3 separate regions of the Homo sapiens genome follow, and regions 1 and 2 are each linked to region 3. Evidence: promoter capture Hi-C in 16 types of primary human blood cells and fetal thymus (Javierre and others, 2016). All regions are on one chromosome and are shown on one strand. The core of a region is centred on a gene start or on the middle of the fragment in contact, and the rest is flanking DNA. Distances in the headings are between cores, read along the strand shown.

Evidence for each region. The method cuts DNA at HindIII sites, captures the fragments that hold promoters and counts their contacts. A CHiCAGO score of 5 or more calls a contact.
Region 1: a fragment that was not itself captured here is called in contact with the fragment with the promoter of SNHG8 in region 3 in 1 of 17 cell types (non-activated CD4 T cells); the score reaches 7.3 in non-activated CD4 T cells.
Region 2: a fragment that was not itself captured here is called in contact with the fragment with the promoter of SNHG8 in region 3 in 1 of 17 cell types (M1 macrophages); the score reaches 6.4 in M1 macrophages.

Annotation. Positions count from the first base shown.
Region 1 is chr4:115,095,984-115,100,370 of GRCh38, reverse strand. All of the region lies in intron 1 of NDST4 (N-deacetylase and N-sulfotransferase 4), which reads left to right. Among named protein-coding and RNA genes, the nearest start is that of NDST4, 15 kb to the left of the region's middle. The HindIII fragment of the contact is 2,923 bases long and covers 431-3,353 here.
Region 2 is chr4:115,275,084-115,279,982 of GRCh38, reverse strand. No RefSeq gene overlaps it. Among named protein-coding and RNA genes, the nearest start is that of NDST4, 160 kb to the right of the region's middle. The HindIII fragment of the contact is 4,335 bases long and covers 411-4,745 here.
Region 3 is chr4:118,277,051-118,281,249 of GRCh38, reverse strand. It overlaps SNHG8 (small nucleolar RNA host gene 8), which reads right to left and starts at 2,488. Exons shown (of 3, transcript NR_034011.1): 1 at 2,458-2,488; 2 at 1,819-1,861; 3 at 1,427-1,626. It overlaps SNORA24 (small nucleolar RNA, H/ACA box 24), which reads right to left and starts at 2,060; the gene lies at 1,930-2,060. PRSS12 (serine protease 12) reads left to right here. Exons shown (of 13, transcript NM_003619.4): 13 at 1-1,212. RefSeq lists a silencer at 2,661-2,710 and an enhancer at 2,781-2,960. The HindIII fragment of the contact is 13,799 bases long and covers 1-4,199 here.

The sequences.
Region 1 (4,387 bases), core at 643-3,142, 3.2 Mb after region 3:
CAATCAAGAAACCAGTACTGACAGGTCATTATCACCCCAAGTCCACAGATTACATCAGGGCACACACTTGGTGTTTTATATCCTATGGGTTTCAACAAATGTTGTATTGTCATTACTTTTTAATTATGTATTAATTTTCATAGTATTAAATAGAAAAATTTCACTACCCTAAATATCACCTGTGTTCCACCTATTCATCCCTCTCTCCCTGCTCCCAAACCTGTGATAACCACCGATCCTTTCACTCACTCTATAGTTTTGCCTTTTCCAGAATTTCATATAAATGGAATTATATAGTATATAACCTTTTCTGATTAGATTATTTCACTTACTAATATGCATTTTATGTTCATCCATGTATTTCTGTGGCTTGATAGATCATTTATTTTTAGAGCTGAATGATATTTCACCGTACAGATGTACCAAAGCTTATTTATTCATTCACTTTTTGATGGACAGTTTGGTAGCTTCCAAGCCTTGGCATCTATAAATAAAGCTGCAATAAAACATCTGTGTGCAAATTTTTGTGTGAATGTAAATTTTTTAACTCATTGAGTAAATACCAAGGATCATGATTGCTGGATAATATGACTATGTTTAGCTTTGTAAGAAACTGCCAAATTGTCTTGCAAAGTGGCTGTATCATTTTTCATTCCTACCAGCAATGAATGAGAGCACTTGTTGCTCTATGTCCTCCCCAGCATTTAGTGTTGTCATTGTTTTAGATTTTACCCATTCTAAAAGGTGTGTACTGGCATCTCATTGATACTTTAATTCGCAACTCCCCAGTACCATATGATGTGTACCATCTTCTCATATCCTAAATGGCCATTTGTATTTTTTCATTAAGGAGGTATCTATTTAGGTTTTTATTTCCCATTTTTGAATTGGGTTGTTTTTCTACTATGGAATTTTAAGAGTTCTTTGTATATTTTGGAAAACAGTTCTTTATCAGATACGGCTATTGCAAATATTTTCTCCCAGTTTGTAGCCTGTCATCTTTCTCTTCAGAGTGTCTGCCACCGAGCAAAAGTTTATTACTTTAATAATGTTAAACGTATCAATTCTTTCTTTTTTGGATTGTTCCTTTTGTGTTAAGTAAAAAAAAATCAAGGTCATCTAGATCTTCTCCTATATGATCTTCTAAGAGTCTTATAGTTATGTATTTTACATTTACATTTCAATAAATTTATATCTACAAATAGTCTAAAATTCACTTGAGTTAATTATTAAAAAGGTTGTAAAGTCTGTGTGTAAATCACTGTTTCTGCATGTGGATGTTCTGTTGTACCAGCAGGGTTTATTGAAAAGGCTATCCTTTCTGCATTGCATTACCTTTGTTCTTTTGTCAAAGATACTTGACATCTGGGCATGGTGGCTCATGCCTGTAATCCCATCATTTTGGGACGCCAATGTGGAAGGACTGCTTGAGCCCAGGAATTCAAGACCAGCCTAGGTAACATAGTGAGACCACTGTCTCTACAAAATATGTATATAAAAAAAATTAGCAAGGTGTGGTGGCACATGCTTGTGGTCCTAGCTATGCAGAAGGCTGCGGTGGGAAGATCACTTGATCCCAGGAGGGCTAAGCTGCAGTTAGCCATGCTGTGATCATGCCACTGCACTCCAGCCTGGGTGACAGAGGGGGAACCTGATTAAAAAATAAAAAAGAAAAGGAAAACATTAATCGACAATATTTTTGTGAGTTTATTTTTGGGATCACTATTCTGGTCTGTTCTTTCATTTACACCACGGTGTCTTGATTACTATAGCTTTATAATAAACCTTGAATCTTGAAGTTTGTTAGTATCTATCCTCCAACTTTGTTATTCTCCTTTAATATTGAATTGGTGACTGTGAGTCTTTTGCTTTCCAAATATACTTTGCGTGTTCTTTTTAATCCATATTTTCATTTTTAAGTCTTCCTCTGGACTATTGTAACTAATTATTAACTGGTCTCCTACCTGCTGGCTTTAATCCACCCTCTTAGTTCCTCAAAAGATAACTTTCTAAAAGGAAATGTTTACCATGTCAGTCTTCACATCGAAGTATTTCAATAGTTGTCCAATTTTAAACAAATTTAAACTCTCTAGAATTTGAGTAAGACCTTTTTATCTTCTATTACCTACCTACCTTTTCAATCCAATTTCTTGCTACTCGTTTGTAAAGAGAGATATAGGAACTAGGAATAAAAGGTACAGAACAGAATAATATTCCAGCTTCAAAGAGTTTGCATTTTAATTGGAGTGATAGACAAGAAGAAATGTAATATTATGTATATGGTGTAATAGATTGTTAGTATTACACACACAACCAAGCAGGGTTTAGGAAGTGTAAGGAGGGAGCTTGCAATTTTGCACCGGGAAACCGGAAACAACTATACTGAGGATATTACATTTGAATAAAAGATTAAAAGAAATGAGGACATCTGCCATGTTTATATCTGGTTCACAAGTATTCTAGGCAAGAAGAAACAAGAAGTCCAGAAGCCTAGAAGTACATATGTAAAGAACACAGCATGTTTGGAGAATATAGAGAGGCCCAGTAGGGAAGATGTAGTAGAATACTTGGTAGAACTGTGTGGACCACTCTGTGAATTTGGCTGTTACTCTAAGTAAAATTAGGGCCGATTTTGGTGGTGGGGAGTTGATCAGAGGAGAGACATAACCTTAATTACATTGTAAAATGAGGACCCTGGTCAATGTATTGGGAAAAAAATGATGTGGAGCAAGGGCTTAGGCAGAGATCAATTAGAAAGAAATTTCAATAGTCCAGTGGAGAAATAATGCTAATTTGTGCAGAGGTGATAGCCATGGGAATTGTTAAGATATGTTCAGATTCAAGATATATTTTATGGGTAGAGCCAATGGATGGGATGCCTGGTATGTCTGACGGGAAAGAAAGAGAGGAGTCAATGGCCAGCCCCAATAGAGATAGAGAGAAAGAGAGTTCCTAAACAAATTTAAAAATTAAGCATCATTTACTTATATGGAGAAACAGTGGGAAGAATAAGTTTAGGATAAAGGAAAATATCAGATAATCAGGTTTGGTCTCATTTAAGTTGGAAATGCCCATTAGATTTCCAAGTGAAAATATCACATATGTGGTTAGATATACAAACAGGAGTTGGTAATAGATTTAGCTGGAAGCGTAAACTTTGAAGTCAACTTTATCAATAGTACTTAAAACTAGAACATTGTAAGATATCCCAAGGAAGTGAATATAAATAGAAAAGAGTAGAAGAGTAAAGAATAGGCCCTGGGGAACTTCACATTTAGAAGGTAAGGATTAAGAAAAAACATAAATTGTGACTAAGTCATAAAGAAACTGAAATATACGATTTCCTAGAAGCTTACTAAAGATAGTTTCTGTGCGGTTGAGGGGATGATCAGGGGTATAAAATGCCGCTTATAGGTAAAGTAAGATAAGATGAGGAGCAAAAATTGATAAATGGATTTTACAACGTGAAGTTTATTGGTGACATTTATAAAATAAATTTCAATGAAGTTGTGATGGTAAGCCTGATTGGAGTAGGTCCTAGAAAAATTGGACTTAGCATTTCAAACAGTTTTGCTGTAGACAGGAACAAAATATAGCGATAGATTGTGAAGTAAGTGAATCATGATAAAAAAGAACAGAATGCCTGTGTTAGAATGGATATTTTAGTCGAGAAGGAAAATATTATTGCTACATGGGAGTGTGAAAAGTATTACTGAAGCAATATCTTCAGTGAGTAAGTGATAATGCATTAGAACTGGTGAACACTTGTTCTAGCTAAGGAGGGTGTCCTTAGCTAGAATGGATAACTCATCCTAAAGAGAACATACACTCACATAGGGAATAAGTGTTTGAGTGCTTATGAAAATCCTTGTCTGCTTGCTACTGTGCTCTCTATGAAATAGAAAGCAAGATTATCAGATGAGAACAATGAAAAGGAAAGAAATGTTAGAAGTTTGAAGATAGAGAAAAATATGAAACAGTCATCTAGGAGAAAAGATAGTTAATGAACTAAAAAGAGATAGCAAGACTTATCACAGAATTAAAAGCTCATTTGGGTCTACTGATCATGAATTTAAGTCAGTTGAGTAATGTTCTATCCATTATCAGAATTGCAAGTGTAGATTTGGTGGACAGTGGGATTTAGTCAGTTTTGTTCTAAAAAATGTGTTGAGTAATGTTCTATCCATTATCAGAATTGCAAGTGTAGATTTGGTGGACAGTGGGATTTAGTCAGTTTTGTTTTAAAAAATGTACATCATGAAATAAAAGAGTGTAAAATGATTTGAGAGTATATAAAATAGAATTAATATAATAATTGATTATGGAATTTAAACTGGGTAAGGGGGATTGTGAGGCCATGAGAGAGAGAGTGTAAAGTTAAAGGATA
Region 2 (4,899 bases), core at 1,329-3,828, 3.0 Mb after region 3:
TTTTTGTATTATAGTTTTCGGGGTACAAATCTTTCACCTTCTTGGTGAAGTTTATCATTAGGTATTTTATTTTTTTGTCCTATCATAAATTAGATTATTTGTCTATTCTTATTTTGAGATATCTCATTTTTAGTGTAAAAAACACAACTGATTTTTTAATGTTGATTTTGTATTCTGCCACTTTACTGAATTTGTTTATTAGTTCTAACAGTTTTTTTAATTGAGTCTTTAGGATTTTCTATATATAAGTTCATGTCGTTAGCAGAGGTAACTTTACTTCTTCTTTTCCAGTTTGGGTGTCTTTTACTTGTTTTCCTGCCTAATTACTCTGGGTAGAAGTTATACTTCCTTGTTGAGTAGAAATGGGGAACGTTGACATGCTTGCCTTATTCCTGTTCTTAAAAAAAGCTTTCAACTTTTTGTTATGAAGTGTGATGTTAGCTGTAGGCCTGTCATATACAGCCTTCACTATGTTGAGGTAAATTCTTTCTATGCAGTCATGTGTCACTTAACCACAGGGATATGTTCTGACAAATGCCTCCTTAGGCATTCATCATTGTGCAAACATCATAGAATGCACTTACACAAACCTAGTTAATATAGCCTAATACAAAACTGGGTTATATGATATAGTCTACTGTCCCTAGGCTACAAATCTGTACAGCATATTACTCTACTGAATACTGTAGCAATCATAACACCATAGTAAGCATTCATATATCTAAACATATTTAGACACAGAAGAAGTACAGTGAAAATATGGTATTATAAACTTATGGGACCACTATCATATAGGCAGTCTATTGACTGAAACTTCATTTTATGACAGCATGTCTGTACCTAGTTTTTTGAGTTGAGAGTATCTGTTTTGTTTTGTTTTATTACAAAAGAATGTCGAATGTTCTCCAATGTTTTGAGATGATCACATGATCTTTTATTCTGTGAATGTGATGTATCACATGAATTGGCTTGCATATGTTGAATCATCTTTGCATCCCATAGATCAAGCCCACTTGGTTACAGTATATGATCTCTTTAAGGTGCTGCTAAACTCAGTTTGCTCATATTTTTTCAAGATTTTTGTATTTATGTTAATCAAGAATGTTGGCCTCTAGGTTTTTTTTTATATATTTTTTTTTAACTGTTCTAGAGTGTTTTTCTATCTTTGGTATAGTGTAATGCTGACCTATAAAATTAGTTTGGAAATGTGCCCTTTTTATAATTTTTTAGGAGTGTTAAGAAGGATTGGTGTTAATTCTTTAAAGGTTTAATCAAATTCTCCAGTGAGGCCATCTGCTCCTGGGCTTTTCATTGTTGGAAAATGTTGGATTCTTGATTCAGTCTCTGTATTCATTATTGATCTGTTCAAGTTTTCTATTTCTTCATGATTTGGTTTTGGCAGGTTGTATGTTTCCAGGAGTTTATCCAACCTTCTAGGTTATCCAATTTGTTAGCATATAATTGTTAATAATAATATGTCTAATATACATCATATTGTTCATATTATATGTAATATATATTAAAATTATGAACAATTATAACCTTTTGATGATTTTTCTTATTACTGGTATCAGTTACAATATCTCTTCTTTCATATCTGATATTTCTGCCTTCTGTCCTTTTTCCTTAGTAAAGCTGGCTAAGGTTTTGTCAATTATTTTATCTTTTCCAAAAAACCTACTCTGAGATTCATTTATTTTTTTATTTTCTACTTGGTTTATTTTTGCTCTAAACTTTGTTATTTTATTTCTACTGCTAATTACAGTTTATTTGTTCTTTCTCTATTTTATGAGGTATAAAGTTAGGTTGTTTATTTGAGACTTTCTCTTTACTGTGGCTTTTGCTGCATCCCTTAGGTTCCAGAATATTGTGTTTTTTATTTTTATTTGTCTTGAGTTTTTTTTTTTCAACTTTTCTTTTGATGTCTTTTTTGATTCATGGTTGTCCAAGAGTGTGTTGTTCGATATCTACTTATTTGTAAATTTTCCTGTGTTTCTTATGTTAGTCATTTCTATTTTTATTTTATTATGGTCAGAAAATATATGTAGTGTAGTTTCAGTCTTCTTAAATTTTTTGTGACATTTTTGTGAACTAAAATGTGACCTATCCTCATGAAATATTCATGAATTTGAGAAGAATGTGTATTTTACTGCTATTTGGATGAAATCTTCTGTATATAGGTCTATTAGGTCCATTGGTCTATAGTTTTATTCAACTTCTCTGTTTCTTTATTGATCTTCTGTCTTGATGTTCTTTCCAGTATTGAAAGTGGGATAAGTCTGCTACCACAGTGTACTACAATAGAAGTCAGTAACTGCATGCTGTTTGTTCCCCCTTTCAATTCTGTGCATGTTTGCTTTGTAGGTGCTCTGATGTTGAGTGCATATACATCTACAATTGTTACATCTTTCCAGTGAATTGACAATTTTATCCTTATATAATGTACTGGTTTGTCTCGTGATAATTTTTTTACTTAAAGTTTATTTTGTCTGATATAAGTACTGAATAGCCAACCCTACAATGTTTGGTTATGAGTTGCATGGAAAATTTTTTTTCCACCCCTTCACTTTCAACGTATACATATCCTTAAATCTAAAATGAGTGTCCTGAAGCTAGGAGGTGTTTGGGTCTTGTAAATTTTTTCATTCTGCCAATCTATGTCTGGCCAATGTTATTGGTGTGAGCAATAAACTCCTTTGTTTCTGATTTCTGATCCAGTAGTCTTTTATTTTCTTTTTTTTTTTTTTTTTTTTTTTTTTGAGACGGAGTCTCGCTCTGTCGCCCAGGCTGGAGTGCAGTGGCGGGATCTCGGCTCACTGCAAGCTCCGCCTCCCGGGTTCACGCCATTCTCCTGCCTCAGCCTCCCAAGTAGCTGGGACTACAGGCGCCCGCCACTACGCCCGGCTAATTTTTTGTATTTTTAGTAGAGACGGGGTTTCACCGTTTTAGCCGGGATGGTCTCGATCTCCTGACCTCGTGATCCGCCCGCCTCGGCCTCCCAAAGTGCTGGGATTACAGGCGTGAGTCTTTTATTTTCTACCAAAATAAAATCTCTTTGACACGTCATAGTTCTTATCAGGAAAGTGATATTCTATTTTATTTTTTAAATATAATATTGAAAAATTTAATACTCAAAAAAAAGGAATGTGCTTAAAATACATACTCAACAACTTCGCCAAATTTTGAAGGTCTTTTATAAGAAGACAACATCTCAGCACACATCGGACGAAAATATGAGTATAACAAAAGAGAACCTTCTTATAACTGAACAATATAGTAAGAAAAACTGAGAGAGAGAACAAAGACCTTTGTTTTTGCAACACTGGCAAAGGGATAGCTCTAAATCCATGCCAAATGAAATATTTAACATTCATATCAAGTTTTTAATGGTGATTTTTTTCTTTAACTAATTACATATTAGGTGTATAACATATAATTTACATACTTTGCTATAATTATATAATAAACTTAGTATGTGTTAAATAAAATATGCATACTTCTATACATTAAATTATATAATATAAATGTGTATATGCATATATACACATACATGTAATGTCATGTGATAATCTCAATTCTGTTATTCAAATAGGTATTTCTATTATATCTTTTATTACATCCCAAGATTAAGAATTTTTACAATATGCTCCAAGTTTCACTGGAGGCCAGTATGGTTCAAATATCTCTTTTTGAGCACATTTTAGTCAAGATTCTGGTGCACTGAGTAGGTGAAACATTTAAGTAATACTTTTTACAAATGGAAAACTTTGTCCTATTGTGATGTTCAACATATTTCAATACCATGAAAAGGCGACTACAGACAACTAACAACCAATATATATCCATGTTATTCATGCTAAGTATTATCACAGTAATTACTATTTTAACAACTTTCCAACTTCTCAGAGTTTATTTGTTATTTGCAGTGGAGTTCAATGACAGTTGATCTTTGGGAAACTCTACTTCATAGTGTCATTCAAAGATCAAGCCTTCTCTTTTTTATACGTCTTCCTTAGAAAATTGGAATCATTCACTAGATCCTCTGCATCTTGCCAGCAAGCGAGGAAGGCAAGATAATTTGGCACATTATGCCAGAAATTTTACAGGCAATCAGGCTTGGAAGTGGTGTCTATCACTTAAACTGACATTGCTTTGGCCACAGCTCTGTCACATGTCTCCAAGTGACAGCTTGAGAAAAGTCTAGCAGAGTGCCAAAGAGGAAGAGAACACAGCTATTGTCCAACAATTGGCCAATCTCTGCAGGTTCTTGGAAAGCAGAGAGCAGAAAAATAGAAAATATTATGGTAATAAATATGACAAGAAATTATAGTCTCATTTATGCTACCACTTGCCCCAACATTTTTTATTAGATTTTCTGAAGTTATTCCTCCTTTGATGACATTTTAATATCCTATTTCTCATTTCTTTCTCTTACAGATTCCACAGAACATATAGAATGGATCTTAAAATTGAACCTACTCATTTGTCAGAGTCTAATGCACTTAAAAAAGCAATTTGAGCCTTCTCTCATTCACTCTGGTTCATAGATTACTCTGTGGTTTAGTGAGATAGATCAGAATCTAAGTTAGAACAAAATAATACAAGGTAAATAATGGATAATTGTTTTAAAATCTGTGATTCATTGTGTTTATAATATCAAGTTTATACAAAATGTATGTATGGAAACCAGCAGGTTATTTATAGTGACAAAAACAAAACCCTTAGAGTAATTCCACAAAGAAGCTTATTCTTATTTTTTGTTTGTTTTGTTCAAAAGCTACAACCAGCTCTTATATTAAAGTCATGTGAAAGCCAAAGGAGTTCCATATATATTTATGCATTCATTTTCAAAATATATTCATTTTTGATTAAATTTTAGAAAGAAATTGTTTGAAACAC
Region 3 (4,199 bases), core at 1,239-3,738:
AATTTGAAAGGATTTCTGGTAACTAAATGCCAGCTGGACATACAACCTATTTTATCCAACACATTAACATATCTACTATATTTGCTTTTAACAAGCACCTCATCATAGTCCACGTTCCCCGACCATGATGTAAGAGTGCCACCCACTGACACTTCCCTGTAACTGACTTATACCTGCAGGTTTTCCCAAGCCCAACCTGATACAATCCAATCTTAAAATATACTAGTCAAAATGCTTTCCTGGCCTACACATTGAAAAGTTCTAATACATACAGCAGTTATAACATATGCCAGGCACTGCATTAGGCAGCTTTGCACATCACTGACAATTTGCAAAAGGCCAGTAAATCTTATGGTAGTAGCCCTTGTTTTCAAATGGGGGAAAACAGGCTTGCCTCAAAGTGAGACCAGTTGGTGAAACTGATTCCAAACTCCAGAAAAAATGCTGATTTTTTTCCCCATGGTTCTCCTACCTAAATGATTGGTTTCCCTATGGCTATTTCTCCAAGAGTTAAGGGATAGCTGCTTAACTATGCACCTTTACAGAACATTCTTAGCAGTAATGCTCAAATTTAAAAGGCACACTCAAGATACTTCCATGTCATGGATCCTTCCCCAGGTCCCAGTAGTATAAATATAGGGAAGAGGTTAGCATGAACTTACAAATTGTTTTAAGTAATCCTCTTGAATGCCAGTCATTAAAGGACTTTGCCCTTCTACATCAAATTACATCCTTTTCACAAATCCCCATTTCTGTAATAACTGGTGCAAACCTAAAGGTGCTTTATAGTTTTACTACTTTGCAGATTTGCAATGCTGCATATAATGCAGAAGAGCATTAAAAACTTTTGTAAAAACTCATGATTTTGATAAACTTTTAAAGTAGCGTTTATATGTAAATAGAACTACACATGGCACACACACTTGCACAAGGGCTTCAGAAAAACGTGCAATATAGGTGAGAAAAATGTCTATTGAAACTTTCTCACAGGCTGCCCTTATAATTAAACTAGTGTTGGGGCAAGCAACATCTGTTTCAAGTAGATCAGGGACTAGCAAACCTAAAAGGCAGCAAGCAGCCTGCAGTTTGCTCAATCCTTAAGAATACATGGTTCATACAACATGCTTTTACTATGTCTTAAGTGTGACTTTTGAAAGATACAAGTGTTCTGTGCATATTTGTGTAAATAAATACATAATTTTCCACCTTGTATAACTGCCTTAAATTTTTGTATGGTTTAAAAAGAGTCTGCTGTCTCCCTTGGGGGTAGCCTGGTAATTTTTATATTTTACATTTTTCACAAAGGCTGCAATTACCTTAGAACTGTACTCACACTACTTCCACATGAGCGTGTAACACTAAATAGGAGGTATTATGCTATTAACTACCTTTCCGTCTATTAATCACTCAGTCAAGGAACAATGAGTAGCCACATGAATTAAGCATTTTATTTAATTATCACGGACCACCTTAAATATTACTTTACAAAATTCAGGCCTATATTTAAAATAGGTGTCCTGATAACTTCCAGGATATTATTCGGAACACCCGTTTCCCCAACTACGATAAGTCCATTGCCGGATGCTGAATAAACTTCGCCCATTACCACTTGGATTTCTTGATAGTCTGCAAGAGAAAAAAAGCATTATAAAACTCCGAGCTGTGTACTTACCTCACTGTTTTGAGATCTTATCAGCTAATTCAGTTGGTTGTTAACTCAAACTACAAAAGCCAGCAAAACGGGCCAACTTTAGCTTTCCAACGTCCTGCCGCTAAGGCGTTTCAGATTAACTCAGAAATATCAAAAAAGAAATGTACCTTATGTTTCCATCATCCATCGTAATGTGTTCAGCTCAGCTTCCTAGAAACATTGAACAACGGTTTAGAAATTTTGCCCAATAACCCGGCACCCTCTAGGTTTTTAACAGTGAATGTTACTTGTGCAAGTCAGAATCTGATACCAATTAAATGGTGACAGCTTTGCCAATAAACAAGGATATGCTCTTCCATGGCTAGGAAGGGAGACTGCCACGGCTGACAGGTCCCAAAGATACATGGAGATTCACAATCCAGAATTAACCAGCAACCAAACTGCTACAGGTTATTACTCACCATCTGGCTCAAACTGACGGTTCTCGGGGTGCTAGGGCACAAGAGCGACAGAGTAGACTCAAGATGGCCACATGACACAGACGGCTGAACAGGCTTCACCGGAGTCCCCGAGTGCACGGAACCTTTCCCCGAGGGCCCACGGCCCACGCACGCCGGGGTTCAGGGTCCAGGGCTGCACGTGGACGCCCGGCGACCTAATGAGCACTCAAGTCCGCGCATGCTTGTAAACTTAAGGGTTTCCAAAGCCGCCCCCGACCTACCAATATCCTGACTGCGCTGCCTTTTAGGTAAGGCAGTAAGTTTCGGCCCAATTATCATTTTAACTTACGAAAGACAACTACGTACTTTCACCTAATCCCGACGCTTCCCGAATGTGAAAGGCCGAGGCCTTCGGCACACGCTCTCTTATAGAACTGATGACGCTATTCCGGGGGAAGCGCCGCGAGGGGCGGAGCCTATGCTGTTTCACTCCCCGCCCCGCCTAGCCCCGCCGCGGCTCCACCTGTTCCGTCTACCACCCCCTTCGCGGCTCCTTTCCCCCCTCCCCCGCACATGGTCCACGTCTGAGCGGGTCACCTGGCTCCGGATCCAGACGCATGCGCACATACGAGAGCCAAAAGGTTCTCGCATAGCGAAAGATCCTGACGCTTACCGGTGTAGGTCACGAAAGCGAGGGGGATTTTTTTGGTATTTCCTGTTTAGGATACTTATTTTAGACAATATTAGAAAAAGGGGCCGAACGCGGTGGCTCACGTCTGTGATCCCAGCACTTTGGGAGGCCGAGGCGGGCGGATCACTTGAGGTTAGGAGTTGGAGACCAGCCTGGCTAACATGGCGAAACCCCGTTTCTACTAAAAATACAAAAATTAGCCTGGTGTGGTGGTGAACGCCTGTAGTCCCGGCTACTCGGGAGGTTGAGGTGGGAGAATCTCTTGAGCCCGAGAGGCGGAAGTTATGGTGAGCTGAGATCGCTGGTTAGCATTTTACAAATTACCTAATCACTACTCAAAAACAAGAAAAGTCTGAGAAACTATTATGCCAGAGAAAATGATGCATAATGATTAAATGTAATGTGGTATCCTGGCTGGGATCTCCAGCAGAAAAAGGACATTAATGGAAAACTAGCGAATCTGAACAAAGTGTGGAATTTAGGTAATAGTGCCAATACCGATTTCTTTATTGTGACAGATATACCATGGTATTGTAAGATATTAATGGTAGGGGAAATTGGATGAAGGGGGTGTGGGGACTCCATTTTTGCAAATTTTCTGTAAATGTAAAACAAAGTTTAACTTAAAAAAGCAATTATAACCTTACAGTCTATTATACTTTCATTTTAAGACAAAGTAGTGATTTAGTAGTGGTTTCTATCTACTTTAGTGTGAAATTTGTGGCTGAGATGACAGTATTTCTAAGTTTGACTTGAGATCAAACCCAATGAATTTAGCTGCATTCAAACCAAGGCTTTGAGCCTTTGGATATTCAGGAGAGACAATGTGGTAACAAATAAAAGAATTAAAAATTGGTTGGTAAATGAAGATTGGCTTAAGGATTTTATTTTATGTATTTATTTATTTAGAAACATTCTTGCTCTGTTGCCTAGCCTGGAGTGCAGTGGCATGATCTTGGCTCAGTGCAACCTCCACCTCCTAGGCTCAAGCGAGCCTCCTGCTAGGCGTGTGCCACCACTTGGCTACTTTTTTTTTAAGGTTTTTTTTTTTTGAAAGACAAGCCCTCACTATATTGCCCTCAGGCTGATCTCCTGTGCTCCTGGGCTCAAGTAATCCTCTTTCCTCGGCCTCCCAAAGTGCTAGGATTGCAGGTGCAAGCCACTGCGCCCAGCCTAAGGATTTTAAAGATAGAATGCAAGGTGAACCTGTTAGAACTGATCAAATGATGGCTAGGTAACATTTCAGTTCTGCTTTTGATACATGGAGTGAACAGTTCATTATAGAATATTTATTCTTCAACAATGCTTTTCCCTGCACTATATCTTTTTTCCTTTTGTGGTTTAGTGTTGAAACTGGTAGTCATCAGAAAAATTTAACATAGAATGGCACATCTGTCATATGAATGCTGAGATGAAT